Linked DNA regions of Homo sapiens: regions 1, 3 and 4 are each linked to region 2. Evidence: promoter capture Hi-C in human tissues and cell types (Jung and others, 2019). All regions are on one chromosome and are shown on one strand. The core of a region is centred on a gene start or on the middle of the fragment in contact, and the rest is flanking DNA. Distances in the headings are between cores, read along the strand shown.

Evidence for each region. Contacts are between HindIII fragments. The study calls those that stand out against the background at their distance.
Region 1: a contact is called between the fragment with the promoter of ITPKA here and the fragment with the promoter of SPTBN5 in region 2, in 4 of the 25 tissues and cell types used here (IMR-90 fibroblasts, heart left ventricle, mesenchymal stem cells and 1 more).
Region 3: a contact is called between a fragment that was not itself captured here and the fragment with the promoter of SPTBN5 in region 2, in 1 of the 25 tissues and cell types used here (mesenchymal stem cells).
Region 4: a fragment that was not itself captured here is called in contact with the fragment with the promoter of SPTBN5 in region 2 in 1 of the 25 tissues and cell types used here (IMR-90 fibroblasts).

Annotation. Positions count from the first base shown.
Region 1 is chr15:41,492,557-41,499,040 of GRCh38, forward strand. ITPKA (inositol-trisphosphate 3-kinase A) reads left to right here and starts at 1,318. Exons shown (of 7, transcript NM_002220.3): 1 at 1,318-1,860. The coding sequence starts at 1,372. RefSeq lists enhancers at 220-720, 721-1,221 and silencers at 958-1,577, 1,598-1,777, 1,888-1,937. The HindIII fragment of the contact is 23,030 bases long and covers 1-6,484 here.
Region 2 is chr15:41,890,643-41,896,851 of GRCh38, forward strand. SPTBN5 (spectrin beta, non-erythrocytic 5) reads right to left here and starts at 3,411. Exons shown (of 68, transcript NM_016642.4): 1 at 3,257-3,411; 2 at 2,640-2,904; 3 at 2,252-2,419. The coding sequence starts at 2,855. LOC105370792 (a long non-coding RNA gene) reads left to right here and starts at 2,135. Exons shown (of 4, transcript NR_135681.1): 1 at 2,135-2,436; 2 at 4,585-4,694; 3 at 4,938-6,209. EHD4 (EH domain containing 4) reads right to left here. Exons shown (of 6, transcript NM_139265.4): 6 at 5,291-6,209. RefSeq lists enhancers at 127-1,002, 2,196-2,255. The HindIII fragment of the contact is 14,752 bases long and covers 449-6,209 here.
Region 3 is chr15:41,596,893-41,603,872 of GRCh38, forward strand. No RefSeq gene overlaps it. Among named protein-coding and RNA genes, the nearest start is that of TYRO3, 41 kb to the left of the region's middle. The HindIII fragment of the contact is 5,329 bases long and covers 1-4,582 here.
Region 4 is chr15:41,573,710-41,580,215 of GRCh38, forward strand. It overlaps TYRO3 (TYRO3 protein tyrosine kinase), which reads left to right. Exons shown (of 19, transcript NM_006293.4): 18 at 1-106; 19 at 4,177-6,506. The coding sequence ends at 4,567. Among named protein-coding and RNA genes, the nearest start is that of TYRO3, 18 kb to the left of the region's middle. The HindIII fragment of the contact is 5,513 bases long and covers 1-4,974 here.

The DNA.
Region 1 (6,484 bases), core at 68-2,567, 400 kb before region 2:
CAAGCCTGAGCCACTATGCTTTGCCGAAGATTCCCGTCTTCCCACTGAACCTTCTTCTTTCCTTCTCCTGGGCCATTCCTGAGCCCTGGCTGAGGGGAGAGAAGGGAAGGAAAGCCCCTCCTGCGGCCATCTCAGCATCCAAGGCAATCCTTCTGGGGCTGCTCTGTCTCCAGGGCCCCAGCCATCCCCAGACACTGAGTGCCTGAGGGGGGACCCTCACTCCTGTGGCACTATGGTAAGATAGGAAACAGTGGCTTCTCCTCAAAGCAGCCTCGCCGGTCGGTCAGCTGACTACCAACATGGGAAGTGGCCGAAGATCCACATGGAATGACACTGATAAGCACTTTGCAGTGTCTGAAACTCTTAAACATCAGTGCTGTCTTCCTAGTTTTACAGACACAACTCTGTGGGTTGGATGAGGTTTTTCTAAATGTACAAATGCAGAAATATACGGAGGGAGTAAAGGGACTGCCTACAAATCACATCTAGAGTGTGGTGTACCTGATTTCAAGTCTTTTATTTTATTCTCGCAGCAACGGGAGAATCCGCAGTCGAGGGAGGTGAAATGACTTGCTGAACGCCACACGGCGGACTCCAAGCCCCGAGCTCCTATAACAGAGGAGGAGGAAGGCGGGCTCAGCTCCTGCCACCCAGCAGCGGGGGAGATGCAGCCCGGGACTAGGCTGGGCCATGGGGACAGATCCAGGCCCCGCCCCCTGACCTTGTTCTCTGCCCGCCGGGAAGTGGGGAACTTGCGGGGAGCAGCCTCAGCTAGTCCCTGGGGCAGAGTCTCCACTTGGGTGCACGCCCTGGGGTGGGGCTTCTTCGGGAAGCCGGGGGCCTTCAACTCTGCTCAGGAGCTCGGGCCGGAGAAAGGCCCCGAGACTTGAAGCCCTTGCCCGGGAGGGATGAACACGCAAAGGAACCCGAGGAACGGGGTAGGGGACCAAGAGTAGGACCAGCTTCTCCTGCGCGGGGACAGGGCCTGTGGAGCGGCCTGGAGGAATCTCTCCCAGCCGCGAAGCCCGGGAAGGCTGCGAGGCCCCAGCGCGGAGCGGCCCCTCCCACCTCCCCGAGGGCAGGCGGAGCGAAGCCTCGGGGCCCGGGCCCAGGTTTTGTGCCTACGGAGGCTGGACTTCCCCGCCACCCCGAGGAGTCACCGAGAGCCTTCTCTCCCTCGCAGGGGCCCTGGGAGGCCCGCGCTTTCTCTGAAAGTGGAAGGAGTGGGCGGGGGGCGCGGCCGAGGCGGGGCGCGGGCGTGCAGCGGCGCAGGCTCCGCCCCGGGGCCGTCTCCAGCCGGGGGCGCCGAGCCGCTCCAGTCCCCGGCGCGCCGCGGGCTGGTGGGCTCAGCGGCGGCGCCGGCACTGGGAAATGACCCTGCCCGGGGGCCCAACGGGCATGGCGCGGCCGGGGGGCGCGAGGCCCTGCAGCCCGGGGCTGGAGCGGGCCCCGCGCCGGAGTGTCGGGGAGCTGCGCCTGCTCTTCGAGGCGCGCTGTGCGGCGGTCGCTGCGGCCGCCGCCGCGGGGGAGCCCCGGGCCCGCGGGGCCAAGCGGCGTGGGGGACAGGTCCCCAACGGGCTTCCGCGGGCTCCCCCGGCCCCGGTGATCCCTCAGCTGACCGTGACAGCCGAGGAGCCCGACGTGCCCCCGACCAGCCCTGGGCCGCCGGAGCGGGAGAGGGACTGCCTCCCGGCAGCGGGCTCTTCGCACCTGCAGCAGCCGCGCCGCCTTTCCACCTCGTCGGTCTCCTCCACTGGCTCCTCGTCGCTGCTCGAGGACTCGGAGGACGACCTGCTGAGCGACAGTGAGAGCCGGAGCCGCGGCAACGTGCAGCTGGAAGCGGGCGAGGACGTGGGTCAGGTACGGGCCGCGGGGGCGGGGCCAGCGCCGGGCGCGGGGGCTGCACGGGGGACCTGGCTGGGTGCTCCCGGAGGACCCGCTCCTGTCCATGCTCCCTCCAGCGGAAGGTCCTGTTCTCGCGGTTTAGGAGGAATCTGGGGGTCAGAGGGAGGCGCCTGGCCGACCTCTCGCCTGGGCAACTTTCACCTCGGCTCCGCCGGCGGGTCGTGGCGCTGGCCCTGGGGCGTCTAAGAAGCGGGGCGAGGAGCAGGCGACCCGCCGCGGGGACTGGGCGAAGCGGGGGTAGCGGACCTTGTTGGCTGTGGGTTAGGACAGGAGGGATCGGAGGGGCTGAGCCTTGCCGGGTGAACCCTCGGAAGGAGAGAGGCGAAGGAGAGTTTCCCTTACCCCCCGCCCCCTCTCCGGTGCCGCGGCCGCACCCCCGCCGTTGCCACGGTTTCCCTCTCCTGAGTGGGAGTGGAGCGGCGCTCCAGGCTCTGCTCGGGAGCCGCTGCCGTCTGCTCCCAGCGCCCGCACGAGGCGTGGACGCAGGGGAGGGAGGGGCGTGGGCCTGGGAGCTCTGGCTGGGAGCGGAACGCAGCCCACCCAGTGCGCGCCCTGCCTCCCATCTTCCCGGCTCGCCGCTCCTGAGCGCGGCAGAGAGGGGCGGTAAACTGAGGCTGCAAGGGGGCAGGATCACTCTGCTAGTCTCTGCCTCTGATAGCCTGGGTGTTCTGGGACCAGGTCTGACCCTCGGAAAACACAGCCCTGGGCACTGTTAAGTCATTCCTGACGCCCGCCACTTAGGGATGTGCGGCTCCCGGGACACCCTCCTTGTTCCCCTCGTTTTAACCAAGGCCAAATACCTTGAATAACTGTCCGTGGTCAGCGCGAAGGACTTTCTTTAGATCCACGTTTCGCAAGTGTCCCTGAGGCCGAGGAAGAGGCGAGGGGCGCCCCCGGCCTCGGGCGTCTGGGGCCTGCCCATAAGTCCGGGTCGGCGCGGCGGGGCGGGGAGAGCTGTGGCCGCGCGCCTGCTCCGCCGCACAATCGGCTGGGACAAGGCAGGGAAGCTGTGGCGACCTGCAGGGGTTCACAAGCCCGGAGGCCGATGGGGTTTGTCAGTGACACCAGAGGGGAAAAGCCTCACAGAGCAGGAACACCCCCCGCCGCCAGGTGCTGGGTGCGCCGGCTCGGTCACTAGCCTGCCGCTTCCCCTTCTTCCCCGGTGGTCAGAGCAGCCCCGGACCCAGGATCGTTTCTGGGGTAACCCTTGCCTAGGTCGGGGGGCGGATGCCGGGGCTTCCCAGGATGTGGAGTGTGGGGCAGTGAGAGGCCCCCCGCCCCGCCTCTTCGGAAAAGCCTGAGCAGCAGCTCCCGGGGCGCGGAAGCTCTGACACCTGAGAGCCGGTGCAGGCGAAAGGGCGCGAAGCGCGGGCGCGTCCCGCTTCCCTCTTCCGCCCGCAGGGACTCGGCGAAGTGCCTGGGAGAGGGAGTGCGCTAGGAGGAGGTCCTGCGGCCCAAGCCTGGGTGTAGAGACCGCCCCGGCTAAGGTCAAGCCTCGGGGACCTGGGCGACCCCGCCGCCCTCCGAGCCGTCGGGAGCCGGTGCAAATCGCCGCTGAGGGCCCTTCCAGCTCCAAGGCTGCGGCTTCCAGGCCTTCCCCACCCCCAGGCCCGCCGGGGCCTCCCCGAAGTCAAACAGCCACAGCGGCGGCAGATAAGCCAGGGGCTGTTGACAGAGGCTGCCTGAGTCCGTGTGGAAGGGCCCAGGGCGGACTTTGCCTCGCCGCAGGTCCCAGAGCCGCACAGCGCGCCGGCCCAGGCCAATTTAGGGCTTCCCCAGGCAGGAAGCAAGGCTGGTCCGGCTGACCGTGAAGGATGCACGTGGGCCGGACTCTAGGACTCCCGGCTTACCAGCCCCTTACGCGCGGCCCAGGCAGGCCGGAGCCCAGGAAGTTTCTGCCTGCCTGCCTGCCTACCTCTCTGCCTGGGGCATACGTAGTCCCCTTCACCTCCTAGGAGCCCTCTCCAGCCTGCCCAGAGCAGGGAAATTGAAACTGGGCAGCCTCACTCCGGCAGAGGAAAAAGTCACAGGCAGGCTTTTCCTAACCAGCCAGGGGAGAAGTTGGAGGCCCACCCGCAAGGTCAGCTGCATGACTCTATGGCCTTGCCTGCCTCCTCAAACAATTGTGGGGTATTGCTGGAGGAAAAGAGAGGGTGTTTGGCTCCTGTTCATCTGGTTTTCTTCTTTCTGTGCTCCAGGATAGGTAAGGAGACCTGGATGCCATCCCCTCCTGGACTCAGAATTCCCACACATCGCTTTCCACTAATTATAGAGCAGAATTTAGGTTAACAGACTTCCTTTTTAAACAGCTAATGCCCATGGGAAGGTGAAGTCGTGGGTCACTTATACCTTAGTGCAAATCGTTTTATAAATTTAAACTGATTGCTCTTCCCACCACCACGACCACAGGGAGTGCTAGTTTGATAGGGCAATTGGAACATGGGGAGGGTATTGGGCTGGTAGAGAGCTTCAACCAGAGCCTGGATGACTGGAGGCAGGGAGCAAGGGTGAGTGCCAAAGACAGAGCACTCACCCACCTGCTGGTCTGCTCCAGCAGAAGATACACTGTGTATCTGGCATGAGCAGGTGTCTTCAAGGCTTCCGAATGGAGCTTAGACAAAGGAGGGTCTGAGGCTAGTATCCAGCCAAGCCCTGCCCAGAGAGAGGTACTCCCTGTTCAGCCCTAGGAGTGAGGAATTATCAGAGGGCCCTCCTGTGACTTCATTAAAGTCTCTCACACAGTCAGCAATCCTAGCCTTTGCCTCAAGATACCCAGGTAGCCTCTGGCTGTGTGTTAGTCTCCCAGAGAGGGCACCTTCATGGAGGGAGGCCCGAGCCAGAGGATGTTCAAGCTTCTCCCGGGTTCAAGCGATTCTCCTGCCTCAGCCTCCCGAGTAGCTGGGATTACAGGCACCTACCACCACACCGGCTAAGTTTTGTATTTTTAATAGAGATGGGGTTTCACCATGTTGGCCAGGCTGCTCTCGAACTCCTGACCTCAAGTGATGCATCTGCCTTGGCCTCCCAAAGTGCTGAGATTACAGGTGTCAGCCACCGCGCCTGGGCTTACATTCATTTTTAAAAGCGTGATGTTCTCTGGGGGAGGTATCTCCCTAAGGTGGAAGGTGGCAGTGATTTGAGTTCCATGACACTTGCACAACTCCTGCCATGCTTGGCCATACCCATTACTGGCAGGGGGGCTAAATCCTGTCATAGCAACCTCAGGTGGTAGGACGGAGGACTCAGATGAGATAATAGGTATGAAAATCTTTTGTAGGCTGGGAGCAGTGGCTCACACTTGTAATCCCAGCACTTTGGGAGTCCAAGGCGGGAGGATCACTTGAACCCCGGAGTTCGAGGCCAGCCTGGGCAACATAGCAAAATCCTGTCTCTACTAAAAATACAAAAAAAATGTCACGGTGGCTCACACTTGCAATCCCAGCACTTTAGGAGGCCATGGCAGGTAGATCACTTGAGGCCAGGAGTTTGAGACCAGCCTGGCCAACATGATGAAACCCCGTCTCTACTAAAAATATAAAAATTAGCCAGGCGTTGGTGGTGCACGCCTATAATCCCAGCTACTCAGGAGACTGAGGCAGGAGAATCGCTCAAACCTGGAAGACAGAGGTAGCAGTGAGCCGAGATCGCACCACTCAAATAAATATGTACATACATACATACAAAAATACAAAAAATCAACCAGGCATGGTGACTCACATCTGTAGTCCCAGCTACTCTGGAGGCTGAGGTGGGAGGATCACCTGAACCCTGGAAGTCCAGGATGCAGTTAGCTGTGATCGCACCACTGGACTCCAGCCTGGACAATGGGAGTGAGACCTTGTCTCAAAAAAAAAAAAAAAAAAAAAGTATTTTGTAACCTGCTAGCTAGGACTGGCCTTAGTTGCTGCTGCTCTTGATTCTTATGAGATGCAGAAAACCAAGGTCAAGAGAGTAGGTGATGACACCATTTTACCCCTGCTTGGGAGCAGGTCCATCAATCAAATGGTAGTAGCCCAGGTTTTTAGACACACATCAAATCCTCTTCTGCCAGGCCCACCTGCCAGCCCTCCTCACTGTTTCTGCACAGTTCTAAAAGGATGGTTCAGTTCCCTCACCCTGCCTAACCCAAGGCAAGTTTCCTCTTCACTAAGTCCATTCTGGTCCCACTATCCCCTAAATTCTTCTAGCAGGTCCCTACAGCCATTAAACTCATTCTTTTGGATAAAGGCAAAGGTGGCCATCCAGTAGAGAAGGGCCCCCAGGCAGGTCTCAGTGTTCCCCAGAAGTCAAAACTCAGACTGCCTTATTGCTGCACATCACTTCACCACGCACAAAGCACTTTCTCAGGCCACATCCCATTTAACCCCCAAAGGGAGGCAGGATGGTAGCATCCTGCTGGGGATACTTTGGAACCTGCTGGGGCAGTTGGAACTTGGGGAGGGAGGATGGGCTGATAGCTTCAGCCAGAGATTGGGAGGCTGGAGGCAGGGCATGAGGGGATGTAACTCCCCTTGATTTCCTTCTGTAAAATGGGAATGATACCACTTCACGCACTTGCTATGCATGTGCATTCATTATG
Region 2 (6,209 bases), core at 2,161-4,660:
ACCCAAATCTCAGCCCTCTTCTTCTGTTCCGGCTCCAACAGGGCCAGCTATAAATCCAGACTCCCAGGCTCCACCCAGTCAGACTGTCTTGGGCCAGAGCCTGGGAATTTGCACTTGAACAACACCTTGGGTGGCTCTTAGGTACACCAAAGTTGAGACTCCTCTGCCCTACATCCTGCCATTTGGACAGGGAGGATGGGTGAGTCAAGGGGAGAAGCCCTGCAGGATCTGGCCCCCAGCCCCCTGTGGCTCCATCTTCCACCCTGTGGAATCACATAGCTCCAAGGCCCATGGGATTCTTATAGTTCCATGGGATTCTAAGCACAGGACTTCAGGCCTTTGCAGGGCCGTGCCTGCTGTCTGAAAGTATTCTCCCAGGTATCTGCATGGCTATTCACCTCCCTGCCTTTAACTCTTCACTCAGATGTTGCCTAGCCTGACCACTTTATTTAACACAGAAACTTAAGGACTATTTCTCCCACCCAAATACACACTCTCGATCCCCTTGCCCTGCTCAAGTGAGGATCTTGGCTTTGTTTTCTGGTGTATCCTAGGGGAGTGGCACACAGCAGGCAATCGATCAGTAAGTACTGAATGGAGAAAGAAAAGGAGTGAGACTTTCCATAAGACCTGAAGGGCAACTGGCTTCAGCCGGCCACTACTAGCCCTGTGGGAGGAGCTGCAATCCTGGGTGTCCCCCTAGGTAAACTTTGGTATATCTGGCTGGCCTCTAAAGGATCCCACCCATGCTCCTGGGGTGGATTCCACCTGCCATGTCAATCACCTTGGCTTAGAGTTGGAGCCTCTGGTGAGTGGGGTGTTTGTCTGCTCCTCCCAGCTCCTGAGAGCCTATCCTCCTGACTTCCTATTGAGCGATGTCACGCTGGTGGCTTAAACTCACCGTGATGGGGGGTATTAACGCCATAGGATCAGCGAATACAGCACACTGGAGTTTTTATTTCCCCCAGAGAATCATTTGTTAAACGTTTACCAGCACACCGCTGATCTGGGTTCAATGAATCTGTCTCCCTTTGAAGCCAGGTGCCTTGAGGTGGGGGTCTGGGCTTTGCTTAGTGGAGCCCAGCGCCTGCATAGAATGCCCAGGGCATGGGAGCATCTCCATAAGCGAATGCATCCCTCATTCTGCCACACATTCCCTGTGTGTTTGCGGCAACTCCGTCATCCTTTCTAGACCACAGTTGCCTCCTATGTGTATGGAGACAAGGATGTCACCCTCACAGGTATCAGTGACATGCTGTATATTAAAGCTTGGGGAGAGCTGCAACACCTCTGACAAAGGCTGTGGGGCTTACACCCTTCCCCAGTTCCTGGAGGGGAGATGACTGGCTCACAGGGTCATTGTCCCTGGATCAACTAGGGCCCAGCATTCTGCAGCTGGCAGCGTTCTGCTCTTGCACCTGCTCAGGACAGCAGTCACTCCCATTCCCTTTGCTTGGGCTTCTCCCCTCCCTGGCTTTCCTCCAACACACCCCAGGAGGCTGGATGTAAGCTCCACTCCAGGATATAGTGATAGGCACGCACAGTCAGGCTCCATCCAGCCAGGCCCAGCTCAGTGACTTCACAGCCTCCAGGGACAGCCACCTCCAGGAGCCCTTGGCCTTCACAGTTCCCGGTTTCCAATGATCCCTTTGCCCCACCCCACCCCTGCACCAGCCCCTCACCCTGGCCATGAGGGTCCCTCTGTCCCTGGAGCTCCGGCCTCCTTTTAGTGCCCATCTCCTTAGCCTGTCCCTTTCTTTCAGGTGACTCTGCCTCCCCCCATTTGCTGAGGCCTCCTCCCTCCTTCTCCAAGACAGGCCCTGCTCCTCTTCCCCACCTGCCGTCTTAGTCCCACATCTGGGCTCTGTTGGCTGGTTAACCATCGATCTTGCCTGGTAAATAATTCAGGGCCTCTGTTTCCTCATCTGTGAAATGAAAAGCCTAAGAGAACGCTAAGATTCTTTTGGCCTAGAATCCTGTGAGTCTCTCTTATGACAGACAGTGACATTTTCCACCCCAGTAGGGACCTGGATTGCTACTGCCATGGCCAGCTGGGTGCTCTCCAAGTCAGGGGTGCTGTGCGAGGAGGGCGTGGCTTCTGCTCCTCTGTGTCCCAGCCACTCCTCCTGTACTCAGGCCCCAGCTCCTCTGTTCTGCCCAGTGGCCTGGCGCAGGAAAGGTGACCCAGTAGTTCAGCCTGTCCCAGCTGCCTGCCCCAGCACCATCCCAGACCCCTTTCCCTGGGGCCCACCTTGGCCCTGAGGAAGGCCAGAGCTCGGCTGCTGTTCTCCAGGAAGTGCACACGCAGGCGGCCCCGGCTCGGGGGTGGCAGGGCCTCCCCTGAGATGAGCTCCAGCAGCCGCAGGAGGTGGATGCCGTCAGCCAGCTCTGTGTACAGGTTCCGGATCTTGATGCCCGCCTGGGGAGGGGACAGGGGTAAGTATGGGGTCAGCCCAGCCTCACCTGTCCTCCCATCCTGGGACCTGAGAGGTACGACCCAGAGCAGCTGCTTTGGAAGAAGGAGCTCTGGCCTCAGCTTGGCCTCAGGCAGATGACCCCACAGCTCACCCCGGAGGCCCACTGGCCAGAGCTGGGGGCCTGGTATGGGTGGGCTGTGGGTCACAGCTGGCTATACTCACCTGGCCGCACTGGAAGACGTTATTGATCCACTTGGTGAAAGTCTTCTCCTGCATCTGCATGTGCCGGGCCTGTAGCTTGCGAATGTGGCCCGTCTCGTACTGAGAGTCCATGGTGAGACTTGGACTGGGCGGGACCCGGAGTTCTGTGCTGGGCCTCCTGCTGCGGTGCCCTGCAGCCCCGAGGAGCTCCCGGGGACTGTGGGGCTGACCAGCCATCAGCCCTGCAGACTTTGGGGATGAGGAGCTGCTGGATGGCTCCCTAAACCTGGAGGGCATGCAGATTAGGGGATGATGTGAATGGAGATGGCCCCTCTACCAGGGGCCTGGGGTCCCGCCTTGCCAGACTGTCCTCACATTTCATGGGGGTTGCAGCTTGGAGCCCAGCCAGGTAAGGGCCAGTGCTTCTGGTCCCCTGTGCTTGAATGGCCCAGGGCCCCCTTTGCCCCACCCCACCTTCCAGATTCTTCTTCTCAGAGCCCCTGCTGCCAGGTCCCTCCACCACAGTGACTGGGACAGGTGGAAGGAAGACAGGAAACTGCTTACCTTGGTGATGCCTGGGTCCCACAGAGACGGCTCTGCTGGACGGATGGAGATGGTAGATAGCAGGGGCTGCTTACCTTGGTGATGCCTGGGTTCCACAGAGGCGGCCCAGCTGGACGGATGGAGATGGCAGATAGCAGGGGCTGTGGAGGGAGGGAGAGGGACATCAGGAGAGGCCAAGGCTGGAGCAGGGCTGCACCACAGCCCTCCCCTTGAGCCAGCGTGCTGGGGTGACGGCACACAGGCGGCATTGTCCTCCCACCTGCCACAGGGCGTGGCCCAGACAGGGAGGGGGTGGTTCAGGAATGCTCCAGGGCCATTGCCAGATGATGTCCTCCTTCATCATCCTCCCTTCCCCGCCAGCAACTTCTCCAACTCCAGGTGGGGGTCCTGGCTCCCAGGACGCAGAGGCCCATGGAGCGGCCCTGCCACCGCATGGGGTGCTGCAGTCTGCGTAGGAGGTACCAAAGGGCAGAGCCTCTGTGGGAAGCCTGTGGACGCACTTCCCAATCTGAGACTGCCCTCTGTACCCTCTTGGGGCCTCTCTGTGAGCACCCAGGGCGAGGGGATGAGGGAGCGTCCTGGGCCGTGGTCTTCTCATTCACCCCCAGGGAACAGCCCATAGACTGAGGGCCTCACAGACCCTGGGCTTGGCTTTCCAGGCCCTGCCAGAGTGCAGCCTGCCTAGCCCGGGGCTGAAGGGTAGGCTCCCTGGAGGAAGGGGTGACCTGGAACTGCGAGGGCTGTGGAGTCTCCTCCAAAATTAGAGACACGGTGTTAACTCTGGGCTCCACAGAGCTGGCCGTGGCCCGGGGCTCGGAGGCAGGGGTGCAGAGGGAGCTGGTGGGCGCCCATCCCTTCCTCCCCGAGCAGCCGTGGACTACATGCCAGAGTGAAGGCGAGTTCTAATTCTGGGGGTCTCACCCGCCTCTGGCTAAACTCAGGGTAGCAGTGTGGGCTGGGGTGTGTGTGTGTGGGTGTCTTCCAGCGGCCCTGGAGCCTCTGAAGCGACAGCCCGCTCCTCAGGGAGGCGCTCCTGGCAGCCACAGCCCACAGCAGGACAGCCGCTCAGCGCGCCCTTGAGAGCTGGGCTAGGGATGAGTCACACTTGAACCGCCTGGGCCCACTGCAGGCAGTCAGGGGTGACGCTGAGAGGTGCCGTGGTCTCGGGTGGGGTGCGGCTTCCTGCGTCTGAGAGACGCTTCCTCTCCTGCTGTCCTCTCCCTGCCAGGCCCCTTCTGCAGCGGCTGGCTTCCAGACACCCTGCGTCCCTCCCTTGCTCGCAGCAGTTGCTGTGGCGGTCCTCCCGTGCACCCCCCCTTCTGCCCTCACTGCCCCTGGGGGTCCTCATCACGGACCCCCTAACTCGGCATCCTGGACACCACCACCCCGCACCTTTCCACAGTGCAGCTCTGCTCGTGCCTGTGAAGCCTCCCACAGCCTGGGAAGGAAAATCCAGACTTGCCAGACCTTGCCTCAGCCAGGCCTTGGAAGCCTGCCAGCTTACCTAACCAGGCTAGTCTGCCCCCCTCACTCTGGGTGCTCTCCATGGGCCACTCACCATTTCCTGAGCAGGACCAGAGCTCTCCTGCCCCAAGGCTGGGCTTCAGCTGCTCTTTCAGCTTTGAACGTCCTTTCCCATTCTCCATCATCCACATTCACCTATCCTGCCTGCCCCAGTTAAAATCCTGTTTCTTCTAGGAAGTCCCTCATCCCACCCGCTTACCCCAGGGAGACTGAGCTTGTTCCTTCTCCTAGTAAGACCCTCAGCCCATGGAGTCCTGTGTGATGTTGTGAGCGTGGGAGGACAGACTGAACTGCTCGGCCCGTGGAGTCCTGTGTGATGTTGTGAGCGGGGAGGACAGACTGAACTGCGTGGTGCTTCGCACATAGACCTCAACAGGGATTGGCATTTTGAAGCTGTTGGCGGGGGCTGTGGACTGCTTTTCTTCCTTTCTAGCTCAACGGCAGCTAAAGCCACTGCATACAATGCAAGGACTGGCTCCTGTTTGGCCACGACTGATTGCAGCCCCTGGTGAAATGAGAACCCTGTGGGTCGGAACAAAGTTTGGATTATTTATGTTGCAAGTAACTAAAATCTCAAGTGAAACTGGTTTAAACATTATATTTTTATTATTTATTTATTTATATTTAATTCTTTTTTAGAGACAGGGTCTTCTTAGGTTGCCCAGGCTGGTCTTGAACTCCTGGCCTCAACGATCTTCCCACTTCAGCCTCCTGCATTGCTGGGATTATAGGTGTGAGCCACCATGCCTGGCTTACACAGTATAAAGGGAATGCATTGGCCCACACAGTGGAAAAAAATATCTAGTAGGAATAGGAAGGACTTCAGGTGAGGTTTGATCCAGCAGCTCAAATGTTGTCACCACAGGCCTGGATTCCTCTGGCCTTTCTCAAGGTCTCTTTCATTTTCATGCTCCACAAGATGGCTTCTGCCAGGCTGACCTCCCTCCCCTGACCCCAGCAGCTCTGGACACCCCTCTCAGTGCCATTTATATTGTTGCATCAATAGGCTCATTTCTATATACTGCAAGGTTCAGAGAAGACAGAGTATCTCTCTCAAGAGTTCTAACATAAGTCTGGGGGTCCTGGCTCTCATAGGCTTGAACAGGGCCACATGTCCATTCCTGAGCCAATATTTGTGACCAAGGGGATGTGGTCAATCTCATCCAAACCTCACTTGAAGTGAGGGTGGGAGGAGGAGTGCTCTGCAAGGAGACTGTAGGTCTGGACCACCAAAAAGGTAGATGGGTTGGTGGGAAAAGCCAGATGCCTACTATGGTAGTGGGCGGGGGGAGGGCACACTGGCAAGGTACAGCAAGAGGCAGGGGCAGTGCTGGACAGGCAGGGGCTCCTCCCTAGCACGACTGGAGAAAGGACTCCTGTGAAGCGGTCACCTCCATGAGTCCCTCCTGTCCTGGCTTCCAACCACTCTGAAGTGGGGCTTTTGTCCACAGACCTGGCCTCTGCTGCCTACCCTCTTCTGTCCCCACCTGATGGGGCCGCTTT
Region 3 (6,980 bases), core at 668-3,167, 300 kb before region 2:
TATGGACAACGCTTTCCCAGATCACACAAAAGCCTCAGGAAGACTGACACCAACTGTGAGTTTCTTCTCTTCTCATCCTTTCTGTGTCACCTTCCGTTCTGGGAAGACCAGGCTCCATTAGCTACTTTTCTTCCTGGATGCTCAAGAACTCCTCTGTCATGCTTGGGACCCAAGTCCTTCCCATTATACGTTGAGCTGGGTTCTGTGTCCCAGAGTTAGAGACTGTGTTATGCTAGGTCTTATCTGAATCTCCCATAAGTGGGTTTCCTTGGCTTCGGGCTTCTGATCCTACAGAAGCTAGCCACCTCCTTTGCTCTTTGCTGTGGTTGCCAGAAGAGGAGTTCCTTTACTGGTCCCTATCTGTTATCTTTTCGGCTTGATTCACCCTGCCTGTAGCCACTCCATCCAGTGGATCCTAGTCCTGTTTGTGTTTTTTTTTTAAGACTCTAAATGTTCTTTAGGTTCCTTCTTAACTCTGTGCTTCTAGGATTGTTCTGCCTCTATCATGTCTCCTGTCAAATTCTTCTTAGAGTAAGTTTTTTAACGAAGTCAGATTTCCCTACTGAATTATTCTAACCTAGCATCTATCTTTTTTTTTTTTTTTTTTTTTTGAGATGGAGTCTCACTCTGTCACCCAGGCTGGAGTGCAGTGGTGCAGTCTTGGCTCACTGCAACCTCTACCTCCCAGGTTCAAGCAATTCTCCTGCTTCAGCCTCCTGAGTAGCTGGGACTACAGGTAAGCACCACTAGGCCTGGTTAATTTTTCTATTTTTTGTACAGATGTGGTTTTGCCATGTTGGCCAGGGTGGCCTTGGCCTCTCAAAGTGCTGGGATTACAGGTGTGAGCCATCGGGCCTGGCCTAACTTAACATCTATCTTATCTTCTCTAGAGGGTCCTGCTGTCAGGCTGGTCACTGTTTTGTCCGTGCCCTGACCATGTGGCTTGTCTTTAGGGAGCCCAGATGCTTATACTCTCATTGTAAGTTGGGTAAGAAAACTATTCTCCCTCTTGGTATTTTAGATAATCTTCCCCTTAGCTGCTCTGGCAATTCCTCTGCTCTAATCCCAAGACTGGCAACTAACATGGCTCCTGTCTGGCTCATGGCCATTCACTGCCGTAATCCCTTTTCTTAGCCACAAATATCTACTCATTATGGACTGGGCAAGGGGAAAACAGACTCCACATGGTCACACTGTTATCTTTTTTTTTTTTTGAGATGGAGTTTCACTCTTGTTGCCCAGGCTGGAGTGCAATGGCACGATCTTGGCTCACTGCAACCTCCGCCCCCGGGTTCAAGCGATTCTCCTGCCTCAGCCCCCCGAGTAGCTAGGATTACAGGCATGCACCACCACACCCAACTAATTTTGTATTTTTAGTAGAGACAGGGTTTCTCCATGTTTGCCAGGTTGGTCTCAAACTCCTGACCTCAGGTGATCCACCCGCCTCGGCCTCCCAAAGTGCTGGGATTACAAGCATGAGCCACCACACCTGGCCACACTGTGTTTTTTTTTTTTTTTTTTTGAGATGGAGTCTCGCTCTATTGCCCAGGCTGGAGTGCAGTGGCGTGATCTCGGCTCACTGCAAAGTCCACCTCCCAGGTTCATGCCATTCTCCTGCCTCAGCCTCCTGAGTAGCTGGGACTACAGGCGCCCAACACCGCGCCCGGCAAATTTTTTGTATTTTTAGTAGAGACAGGGTTTCACCGTGTTAGCCAGGATGGTCTCGATCTCCCGACCTCGTGATCCACCTGCCTCGGCCTCCCCAAGTGCTGGGATTACAGGCGTGAGCCACCGCGCCTGGCCACACACTGTTACCTTTTACAGTGCTTTAAAGCAAATGTTAAACCAGAATGTAATCAGCTCCCAAGGTCAGAAGGGGCATCTTTCTCCATAAGAAGATGTGTGCATGTGCTTACCTCCATTGCACTGGACTTAGGACAGCATTTTGGCACTGTGCAAGAGTACAAATGTGTGACGTACTCAGCCCAGAACTGTCCCGTTTGCTGGGGAATATAGGAGCTTTCCCTGAACCATATTTCTCCTTTTGGGCGGGTTGTCCTCTTCCTGCCTCCAGCCAAGAGGTGGTCTATGTCTCTCCGAGTCTTCATTCCCAGTATGGATATTCCTCCCATCAGCATTATCTCAAGGAGCTCCTGACTATGCCCAGTGATCCTTGGGTGAGGCCACACTGTACCCCTGTAAGTTTAGGTCACATTTCAGCTATTAGAGGGTCCCAGCTTCAGCTCTATTCCAGAGTCCATAAACAGCAATTCAGCATTTCTAGGGGCTTAAAAGCAATTCTGTTTTTGTATCCTTGGACCACAGATTTTTCTAGGGCCATCTGGACTCTCTGAGTTGCTGCCAATAGGACAGCAGGGAAAGTCCAGACCAGTCCAGGTTAACCGGCCCCAACATATCAATGTGGTTTTCTATGATGTCTTCCACTCCCCAGGTCAGCCAACCAAATCCTGTTCCACTGGGGTTCAGAGTCCCTAAAATGGAACTGTTTGGTTCTTCTAGGAGCACAGGAAGAAAACAGTGAGGAGGAGGAGTGGGGAGAAAAAGACTCATGCGAAAAAGGGAGAGGAAGTGAGTGATGCTGAGGGAAGAGAAAAAAGCAAATGGCAACAGCAGCAGCAGAAGGAGAGTGAGGGTGGGAGGGAAAGGCAGAAATACAGAGTTCTACTCTTGATAATGTACTATTATTTTTGAGATAGGGTCTCGCTATGTCACCCAAGCTGGAGGGCAATGGCATGATCATGGCTCACTGCAACCGTGACCTCCTGGGCTGAAGCAATCCTCCCTTCTCAGCCTCCCAAGTAGCTAGGACTACAGGTGTGTGCCATTAGATCCGGCTAATTTTTAAAATTTTTTGTAGAGATGAGGTCTTGTTATGTTGCCCAGGCTGGTCTCGAACTCCTGACCTCAAGTGATGCTTTCATCTCAGCCTCCCAAAGTGCTGGGATTACAGGCATGAGCCACCATGCCCAGCCTTCTCTCTCTCTCTCTCTCTCTCTCTCTCTCTCTCTCTCTCTCTCTCTCTCTCTCTCTCTCTCTCTCTCTGTGTGTGTGTGTGTGTGTGTGTGAGAGAGAGAGAGAGAGAAGAGGTAGAGGTTTATTGAAATATGAACATTTGGCCAGGCTCAGTGGCTTGCATCTGTAATCCCAGCACTTTGGGAGGCCAAGGTGGGTGGATCGCTTGAGCCCAGGAGTTTGAGACCAGCCTGGGCAACATGGCGAAACCCTGTCTCTACTAAAAATGTACAAAAAATTAGCTGGGTGTGGTGGTGTGTTCCTATAGTCCCAGCTCCTTGGAGGCTGAGGTGGGAGTATGGCTTGAGCCTGGGAGGTGGAAATTGCAGTGAGCTGAGACCACGTTACTGCATTCCAGCCTGGGCAACAGAGTGAGACCCTATCTCAAACAAACAAATACAAAACCAAAAAAAAAAAAAAAAAAAAAGAGAGAGACAGAAAGAAATATAAACATTCAAGGAAATGTAAGATGGAAACAGCCATAACATATAGAGACACTTGCTGCAAGAGGATGCCTGAGGCATTTATTCACTGCCTAGGCTGCCCATGTGCTGTCACATTTTTCCTGGTTTGAATACATATAAGATGGGAAGAGGGGAGGGGACAGAGTTGCTCTGGCTGACTGCCTACCATGTGGCCTTCAGGAATGCACCTTCAGGAAAGCTCCACTTGGGCTAGGGCCCCACTCCTGGGCACCTGCTGGCACCCTCCCCTCTTGGGCTCTGGGTAAGACCTTGTGTTGTCCTTGAGGGCAGTGGGGGTTCTCACTCATCACTCAGAGGATGAGGCCAGGCAAGCTGCCTGGGGAAAGGGAGAGGATCCAATGGCCAGAAAGACACAGTGTGCTGTCCTTGCATCCTCTGGGTGGGAAGAGTCCATCTTTTGTGACCACAGCTCTGAGAAACACACTGGCCAAATGTCTGAGACACCTTTAAGCAGGCTCAGTGCCAGCCAGTTGGCCCCCTCACTGGCACCAGATCCCAGATATCCTTCTCTCCCACAGCCTGCACTTGAGGTACTTGTTTTGTGTTCAAGCTTTTTATTTCTCTTTCCTTTCCTAGACAGGACTGAATGCTAGCCACACTGTCACACTGCCTCCCATCACACATAGTGTCTCCTGCCACCACAGTCCAAGGATGTTGCAGTGGTGGTGTTCTTCTGCACTCTTCAGGGCTTACTTAGCAGAGGTAAGCCTCATCCAAGAATCATCTTTCCTTTACAACACAGGAGCAACCTACTGCATGCCAGGGTCCAAGAGGGGAGACAGGGCCTGGTGCGGTGGCTCATGCCTGTAATCCCAGCACTTTGGGAGGCCGAGGCAGGCAGATCACGAGGTCAGCAGTTCGAGACCAGCCTGACCAACATGGTGAAACCTCGTCTCTACTAAAAATACAAAAATTAGCCAGGCGTGATGGCGGGTGCCTATAGTCCCAGCTACTCAGGAGGCTGAGGCAGGAGAATTGCTTGAACCTGGGAGGTGGAGGTTGCATTGAGCGGATATCGCACCACTGCACTCCAGCCTGGGCAACAAAGCGAGGTTCCATCTCAAAAAAAAAAAAAAAAAAAAAAAGAAGGGAGACAGACCTTTTTCAGCATCTTCATTCCTTGGGGCAGCTTGACCTCCAGCAAGACTGGTAAGGACCATGGTGCAAGGAGCATGGCCTGCCCATGACCTGAACTGGAAATCCAGCCTATGTGATGGTATTAGCCTGAGTTCCTGGTTAACATTTTATAGTGACCCATCAAATATGCATAAAAAAGTAAGGAAGCCTGGGCATGGTGGCTCATGCCTGTAATCCCAGCACTTTGGGAGGCTGAGGCAGGCGGATCATGAAGTCAAGAGATCGAGCCCATCCTGGCCAACATGGTGAAACCCTGTCTCTACTAAAAATACAAAAATTAGCTGGGTGTGGTTGGGGGAGCCTGTAATCCCAGATGCTCGGAGGCTGAGGGAGGATAATCGCTTGAACCCAGGAGGCGGAGGTTGCAGTGAGCCTGGGGGACAGAGTGAGACTCCATCTCAAAAAAAAAAAAAAGAAAAAAAAAAAAAAGGAAGGAAGGAAGCTTGCAGTTTTGATTAATAATAAAGGCTGGTGTTTCCATGGTCCCCATCCCTGGGAAGACCTGTGGGCTACCTTCCCAGGTTTCTTTTGCCTCTGCAACCTGGTCGAGGGGTTAAGAGTTGGGGAGGTGAGTAGAACTGAGTGGCTTTGCTCCACTTTTTTCCCTTAATCCTGGCAAAGGGTCCCATACATCATAGCTGTTAAGATGCTCACAGCTTCTCTGAGGGCAGAGTTCACTTCATTGCTTTCTTTCTTGGGGTTTCACTCCTTTCATTCTGCTTTTTATCCTTTCCTGGCCTGGTTGACTCTGGATATATCATAGATATTTTCTGAATCTTCTTCTGTATTTGTTAAATAGGGTTAAGACCCTTCTCTGGCCTTTTCACTAGAATACAACAAAGATTAAATCAGCTTTCATTGATAAGAGAGCTTTGTATAATGCAAATTATAAGTATCATTTGTGATGGCCATAATCTAGGATTAAATTGCATTCCCTAACACAAAAACTTTCCATTCCTCAGTATGATAGTCAGAGAGGATGCTATTAGTATGTTTTCAGAAATTCCTTTTTTTTGAGACAGAGTTTCGCTCCATGCTGGAGTGCAGTGGAGTGATCTCAGCCCACTGCAACCTCCGCTTGCCGGGTTCAAGTGATTCTCCTGTCTCAGCCTCCAGAGTAGCTGGGATTACAGGCGTGCCCCACCATGCCTGGCTAATTTTTGTATTTTTAGTAGAGATGGGGTTTCACCATGTTGGCCAGGGTGGTCTCAAACTCCTGACCTCAGGCGATCCAACCACCTCACCCTCCTAAAGTGCTGGAATTACAGGTGTGAGCCACTGCGCCCAGCCTGTTTTCAGAACTTCTTTATCTCCTAGGCCAGCCAGAAACATTAGTGAGAACTTGGAAAACAACTGCTGCATGTCTGGGGTTGACATAACGTCTGTTCCCTCAGTGGGTCTTATCTTCTGCCCTGTGAACAGTGATCCACCTCATGTATTCACAATTCACAGTCTTGCTCTTCCTTTCATTCAGGTAGGCAGGTAGTCTCAGGCCAAACTTCCCAAAGGTTATGAATTCAGGTTCTGGATTCCCATCTAGAATCAGTCTACTTGGGTCCGGAACATTTGGAGCCCATGTAAATACTGAGTGTGTGTGTGGTGTGTGTGTGTGTCTGTGTAGGGAGGATGAACTTGAAAATGCTATGGAAATAAATAATGGAGTAGCAAGGAGGACGTTCTGTCTGATTACAGTAAAATAATTCTAAATTAATAGGAGACGGGAATAGGAAAGGTGACTAAGAGAAAAGCTAATTTCTGATAGAAACTTAGGGAGCAAAACCTATGTAGCTAAGCAGCGGCTAAGAGGGAATGAGACATGATATAAAACCTGAAGAAGAGGCGTCCTGGTTTTAGCTTAGCCCAAGGGCAAAAGTAATAGGAGAATAAAACAGACTTCTACAATCTGTAGATTTCTTCTTGTTCTGCTAGAAAAGACAGAGTTGGTGGGGGACAGTGGGGTGTTTAGGACTATATGGAACCTTCTTGAAACACATACAGATAGCTTAAGGACAGACAGCATGACCACAAGTCTTCAATCTGTCATTAACTTGCACGTGTGGGTGTGTGACATCTACCTCTGACTGGAAACAGCAATTAGAAGGCGGCTTTCGTCTCTTAGAAGAGTGCCTGTTCCTATGTGAGGAGCACCCAGGACTTCAGCTGGATGACAGTGGGAAGCTGTTGATGTAGTGGCTTTGACAGCTTCAACTCATGTCTGCTTTGGTGTCAGACACTCCTGATCTTTCCCGAGCTTTCACGCAGTACAGTAGGAAAAACTGTAGGCTTCTCTTCTCAGTAAAGGACTAGATATTGCCACTCATCACT
Region 4 (6,506 bases), core at 968-3,467, 320 kb before region 2:
TGACACGTGGGCAGACGCCATATGCTGGCATCGAAAACGCTGAGATTTACAACTACCTCATTGGCGGGAACCGCCTGAAACAGCCTCCGGAGTGTATGGAGGACGTGTGAGTATCCTGGGAAGGGGGCTCTGGAAGGAAAGGGGAATCTGGAGTTTTGGCTGATGGCTGCCACCACAGTTGCCTCAACTGGACCTTTGTTTTTTGATAGAAACATCCTTGTAGTTGGAAGGCTGCACTCCACCTCATACTCACTGTTCATCTACCACCTCCCTGTTTTCTTTCTTTCCCCCTTTCCCATCCCAGATTTCTTGCTTTAGCCTTTGTCTATCAGTCTCTTTTCTCCAGTTTGTAAGGAGAACCAGGAACCCCAAGAGCAGAAGGCACAGTGCTGAGTAACAGTGTGGGAGGTTTCCCTGCCATCTTCCCACCCGTCATTCCTTTTCTTTTTTTAATTTGTATTTATTTTATTTTATTTGTTCTACCCTAGTGAATACAACCTTTGTCCTGGAGACCCCAGCTAGTCTAAGAAAACTTCCTAGGCTGAGCTCTCTTGGGAATCTAAGATAAAGAACTGAGATCCTGGGAAGAAGGGAACTGCCTCCTCTTCTTTCTGCAAGCCCAAAGCCCTCGGGACTGGGCAGGCAATGATACCACCCACTTTGCTACAGTGATAACAGACCCTGTGACAAGATAATGGGAAGTGTCACTGACATTAGCTGGGCATTTAGGCATTCTTTCAGGTAATCTTCCTCTGACCTTATGAGGAAAAGACTATTATTTATCCCCACTTTGTAGATGAGAAAATAGGATTAGAGAGATTAAGTAACATGGCCAACGTCACAGAGCTAGTAAGTGAATAAGTTGGAATTTGAACCTAGATCCCTGTAGTTTTAGAATATATACTCTTAACTCTTTATGACAACAACTGTGATTTGTCTGTTCTAGTCTTACACTCCCACTCCATCCAAGCCAAGGGCTCCCTAGGCCTTCAGACAACCTTTTGTGAGTATTTTTTGTTTTGTTTTTTGAGACAGGGTCTCGCTTTGTCACCCAGGCTGGAGTGCAGTGGCGTGATCTCTGCTTACTGCAGCCTCAACCTCCTGGGCTCAAGTGATCCTCCCTCCCCAGCCTTCCAAGTAGCTGGGACTACAGGCACGTGCCACCACACTCGGCTAATTTTTGTATTTTTGTAGAGACAGGGCTCCGCCATATTTGTCAAGCTGGTCTTGCGCTCCTGGGCTCAAGGGATCCATCTGCCTTGGCCTCCCAAAATGCTGGGATTACAGGTGTGAGCCACCACGCCCAGCCCAGAGGACCTTTCATGAGCCCCAGGGGGAGTGGGAGCCACTGTGACCAGAGAAAGAATCTGCTCCATTTCTTGCTCTGGGATTGGACTTCCAGAGGGCCGAGGTCATGGACAGGCACAGGAAGGCTCAGCCTGATGGTGGGGTCCTTCCCTTGGACAGTGGGTTTGAAGTGCCCTGAGCCTGGGCTGTGGGTAACTCACCTACACCTGAGAGGGAAATCTTGAGTAGACAAGCCAGGCCCTGGCCCTCCTGTTCATTCAGCAGAGCTCAGGGCATGGCAAGGGGCAGGAAGCTCACATCTCCCTGTGGCTGCAGCCTGCTTCAGTTCTAATCTGGCGCTGTAGAAGCTCTGAAGGGCAGTGGGGACCAGACCCCAGCGCAGCCTCCTCCCCAGCTGGAGCTGGTGCTGTCAATGGAGAGTGGGCAGGCACTGGCCTCACCCAGGCAGCCTGGTGGACAGGCGCCAGTTGGCTCCTAGCACAGCCTTGAGGACGTGTCCCAGTCTGGCCATGTACCCACGGCCCCAGACCATTCCCATTCCCACGACCTGTTCAGTGTCTGGCATGATTACTGCCATTACTGGTGGCCCCTGCTGGGGGTGTGCTGGTGTGTGAGGCAGTGCTTGGGGCTCTTGTCATGGGCATAGGCAAGAGAGTCAGGCATTTGCATTCATTGGACTTGGTCTCAGCGTCTTTCCATTAGGTTTTTGGTTTGTTATTTTTCCACCTGAGCCTGAGGCATTCCTTGGGCATCCTGAGTGATAGGCTTCAGGGAATTTATAAGGTTCCTGAAATTGTATGTAAAAAAGCATTCCTGGCAGGGGACGGTGGCTCACGCCCGTAATCCCAGCGCTTTGGGAGGCGGATCTCCTGAGGTCGGGAGTTCCAGACCAGCCTGACCAACATAGAGAAACCCCGCCTCTATTAAAAATACAAAATTAGCTGGGCGTGGTGGCGCATGCCTGTAATGCCAGCTACTTGGGAAGCTGAGGCAGGAGAATCACTTGAACCCGGGAGGCAGAGGTTCTGGTGACCCGAGATCACACCATTGCACTCCAGCCTGGGCAACAAGAGCAAAACTCCATCTCAAAAAAAAAAAAAAAAAAAAATTAATTCCTGTTGGCAGGAGAGCTGGAAGCTTTTTCCAGATACTCAAAAGTTATATATGAATAGTGAGGACTTTTTCTTTTTTTTGAAATGGAGTTTTGCTCTTGTCGCCCAGGCTGGAGTGCAATGGCACAATCTTGGCTCACCACAACTTCCACCTCCTGGATTCAAGCGATTCTCGTGCCTCAGTCTCCTGAGTAGCTGGGATTACAGGCATGCACCACCCTGCCCAGCTAATTTTGTATTTTTAGTAGAGACGGGGTTTCTCCATGTTGATCAGGCTGGTCTCAAACTCCCGACCTCAGGTGATCTGCCCACCTTGGCCTCCCAAAGGGCTGGGATGACAGGTGTGTGCCACCTTGCCCAACCAATTTTTGTATTTTTTAGTAGACACGGGGTTTCATCATGTTGGCCAGGCTGGACTCGAACTCCTGACCTCAAGTGATCCACCTGCTTCGGCCTCCCAAAGTGCTGGGATTACAGGCATGAGCTACTGCACCTGGCCTGATTCAGTAGGTTTCCTTTTTTTTTTTTTTTTTTTTTTTTAAAAAAAAAAAAGAGAAAGGGCCTCGCTCTGACAGCCAGGCTGGAGTGCAGTAATGCAATCACAGCTCACTGTAGCATCAAACCCCTGGGTTCAAGAGATCTTCTGCCCAGCCTCCCTAGTAGCTGGGATTACAGGTACTTACCACCATACCTTGCTTATTAATTTTTTTTTTTAATAGAGACATGGTCTCGCTATGTTGTCCAGACTAGTCTCGAACTCCTGGGGTCAAAGGATCTTTTAGCCTCAGCCTCCTGAGTAGCTGGGACTACAGGTGCATACCACTGTGTCCGGCTGCACGGTGAGGAATTACTGAGTAGGTACTGCCCACTCAGCACAGGAGGGACTTCGGAGTCAACCCCCTCGCTTCAAATCACAGCTCTGTCACTTTCCACGTGTGTGACTTTAGTCACGGTTCTTAACCTCTTTGTGCATGTTTCCACATTTGTAAATGTGGAAATGATTTCTATTTGATCATTGCTTTCATAGGGTTGTTGTGAGAAATAATAAGCTAGGATGTGCCTGTAATCCCAGCTACTCAGGAAGCTGTGGTGGGAGGATCACTAGAGGCCAGGAGTTTGAGACCAGCCTGAGCAACATAGCAAGACCCTGTCTCTACAAATATATTTTTTATTTATTTAATTTAATTAATTTATTTGTTTGTTTATTTATTTTGAGATGGAATTTCACTCTTGTTGCCCAGGCTGGAGTTCAATTGTGCAATCTCGGCTCACCGCAACCTCCACCTCCTGGGTTCAAGCGATTCTCCTGCCTCAGCCTCCCAAGTAGCTGGGATTACAGGAATGTGCCACCATGCTGGGCTAATTTTTTTTTGTATTTTTAGTAGAGATGGGGTTTCTCCATGTTGGTCAGGCTGGTCTCGAACTCCTGACCTCAGGTGATCTGCCTGCCTTGGCCTCCCAAGGTGATCCCACCTCAGCCTTCCGAGTAGCTGGGACTACAGGCGTGTCTACCAAGCCTGGCTAATTTTTGTATTATTATAGAGACAGGGTTTTGCCATATTGCCCAGGCTGGTCTCGAACTCCTGGGCTCAAATAATACCCCCCTTCGGCCTCCCAAAGTGTTGAGATTACAGATGCGAGCCGCTGTGCCCCACCAGGGAATAAAATTTTTTAAAACCCTAGTGCCATATGATGAAGGGGCCCCTGCTTTTGAGGGAAGGGCTCCTGCCTTTTCTCACGCTTCTCTCCACCCCAGGTATGATCTCATGTACCAGTGCTGGAGTGCTGACCCCAAGCAGCGCCCGAGCTTTACTTGTCTGCGAATGGAACTGGAGAACATCTTGGGCCAGCTGTCTGTGCTATCTGCCAGCCAGGACCCCTTATACATCAACATCGAGAGAGCTGAGGAGCCCACTGCGGGAGGCAGCCTGGAGCTACCTGGCAGGGATCAGCCCTACAGTGGGGCTGGGGATGGCAGTGGCATGGGGGCAGTGGGTGGCACTCCCAGTGACTGTCGGTACATACTCACCCCCGGAGGGCTGGCTGAGCAGCCAGGGCAGGCAGAGCACCAGCCAGAGAGTCCCCTCAATGAGACACAGAGGCTTTTGCTGCTGCAGCAAGGGCTACTGCCACACAGTAGCTGTTAGCCCACAGGCAGAGGGCATCGGGGCCATTTGGCCGGCTCTGGTGGCCACTGAGCTGGCTGACTAAGCCCCGTCTGACCCCAGCCCAGACAGCAAGGTGTGGAGGCTCCTGTGGTAGTCCTCCCAAGCTGTGCTGGGAAGCCCGGACTGACCAAATCACCCAATCCCAGTTCTTCCTGCAACCACTCTGTGGCCAGCCTGGCATCAGTTTAGGCCTTGGCTTGATGGAAGTGGGCCAGTCCTGGTTGTCTGAACCCAGGCAGCTGGCAGGAGTGGGGTGGTTATGTTTCCATGGTTACCATGGGTGTGGATGGCAGTGTGGGGAGGGCAGGTCCAGCTCTGTGGGCCCTACCCTCCTGCTGAGCTGCCCCTGCTGCTTAAGTGCATGCATTGAGCTGCCTCCAGCCTGGTGGCCCAGCTATTACCACACTTGGGGTTTAAATATCCAGGTGTGCCCCTCCAAGTCACAAAGAGATGTCCTTGTAATATTCCCTTTTAGGTGAGGGTTGGTAAGGGGTTGGTATCTCAGGTCTGAATCTTCACCATCTTTCTGATTCCGCACCCTGCCTACGCCAGGAGAAGTTGAGGGGAGCATGCTTCCCTGCAGCTGACCGGGTCACACAAAGGCATGCTGGAGTACCCAGCCTATCAGGTGCCCCTCTTCCAAAGGCAGCGTGCCGAGCCAGCAAGAGGAAGGGGTGCTGTGAGGCTTGCCCAGGAGCAAGTGAGGCCGGAGAGGAGTTCAGGAACCCTTCTCCATACCCACAATCTGAGCACGCTACCAAATCTCAAAATATCCTAAGACTAACAAAGGCAGCTGTGTCTGAGCCCAACCCTTCTAAACGGTGACCTTTAGTGCCAACTTCCCCTCTAACTGGACAGCCTCTTCTGTCCCAAGTCTCCAGAGAGAAATCAGGCCTGATGAGGGGGAATTCCTGGAACCTGGACCCCAGCCTTGGTGGGGGAGCCTCTGGAATGCATGGGGCGGGTCCTAGCTGTTAGGGACATTTCCAAGCTGTTAGTTGCTGTTTAAAATAGAAATAAAATTGAAGACTAAAGACCTAAGGTTTTGTCTCTTTTTTTTTTTCTTTTTTTTTGAGACAGTCTCACTGTGTTGCCCAGGCTGGAGTGCATGGTGTGATCTTGGTTCACTGCAACCTCTGCCTCCTGGGTTCAAGCGATTCTTGTGCCTCAGTCACCAGAGTAGCTGGGATTACAGGGGCTCACTACCATGCCCAGGTAATTTTTGTATTTTTAGTAGAGATGTGGTTTCGCCATGTTGGCCAGGGTGGTCTTGAACTCATGACCTCAAGTGATCTGCCTGCCTTGGCCTCCCAAAGTGCTGGGATTACAGTCCTGAGCCACCACACCTGGCCCCAGCTTTGTCTCTTAAATGTTTACTTTTTTTGAGATCACAAAGATGAAAGATTTTTATAGAGAGAAAAGTCTGGAAAGACATATGCCAAAATGTTAACAGCTGTTATCTTTTTTTTTTTTTTTTTGAGACCGAGTCTCACTCTGTCGCCCAGGCTGGAGTGCAATTGCGCGATCTGAGCTCACTGCAAGCTCTGCCTCCCAGGTTCACGCCATTCTCCTGCCTCAGCCTCCCGAGTAGCTGGGACTACAGGTGCCTGCCACCACGCCCGGCTAATTTTTTGTATTTTTAGTAGAGATAGGGTTTCACCGTATTAGCCAGGATGATCTCAATCTCCTGACCTCGTGATCCGCCTGCCTCAGCCTCCCAAAGTGTTGGGATTACAGGCGTGAGCCACCGCACCTGGCAACAGCTGTTACCTTTAAATGATGGGGTTAAGGGGACGTTCTTCTTTGTGCTTTCCAAGTTTTCTGCATTGAGCACAAAATGCTTTTGTAATTAGATACAGGATCCCAATGAATCTTATTATACTGAAGATAATACAGAGTCACCGTGGGCAGTTAGAAA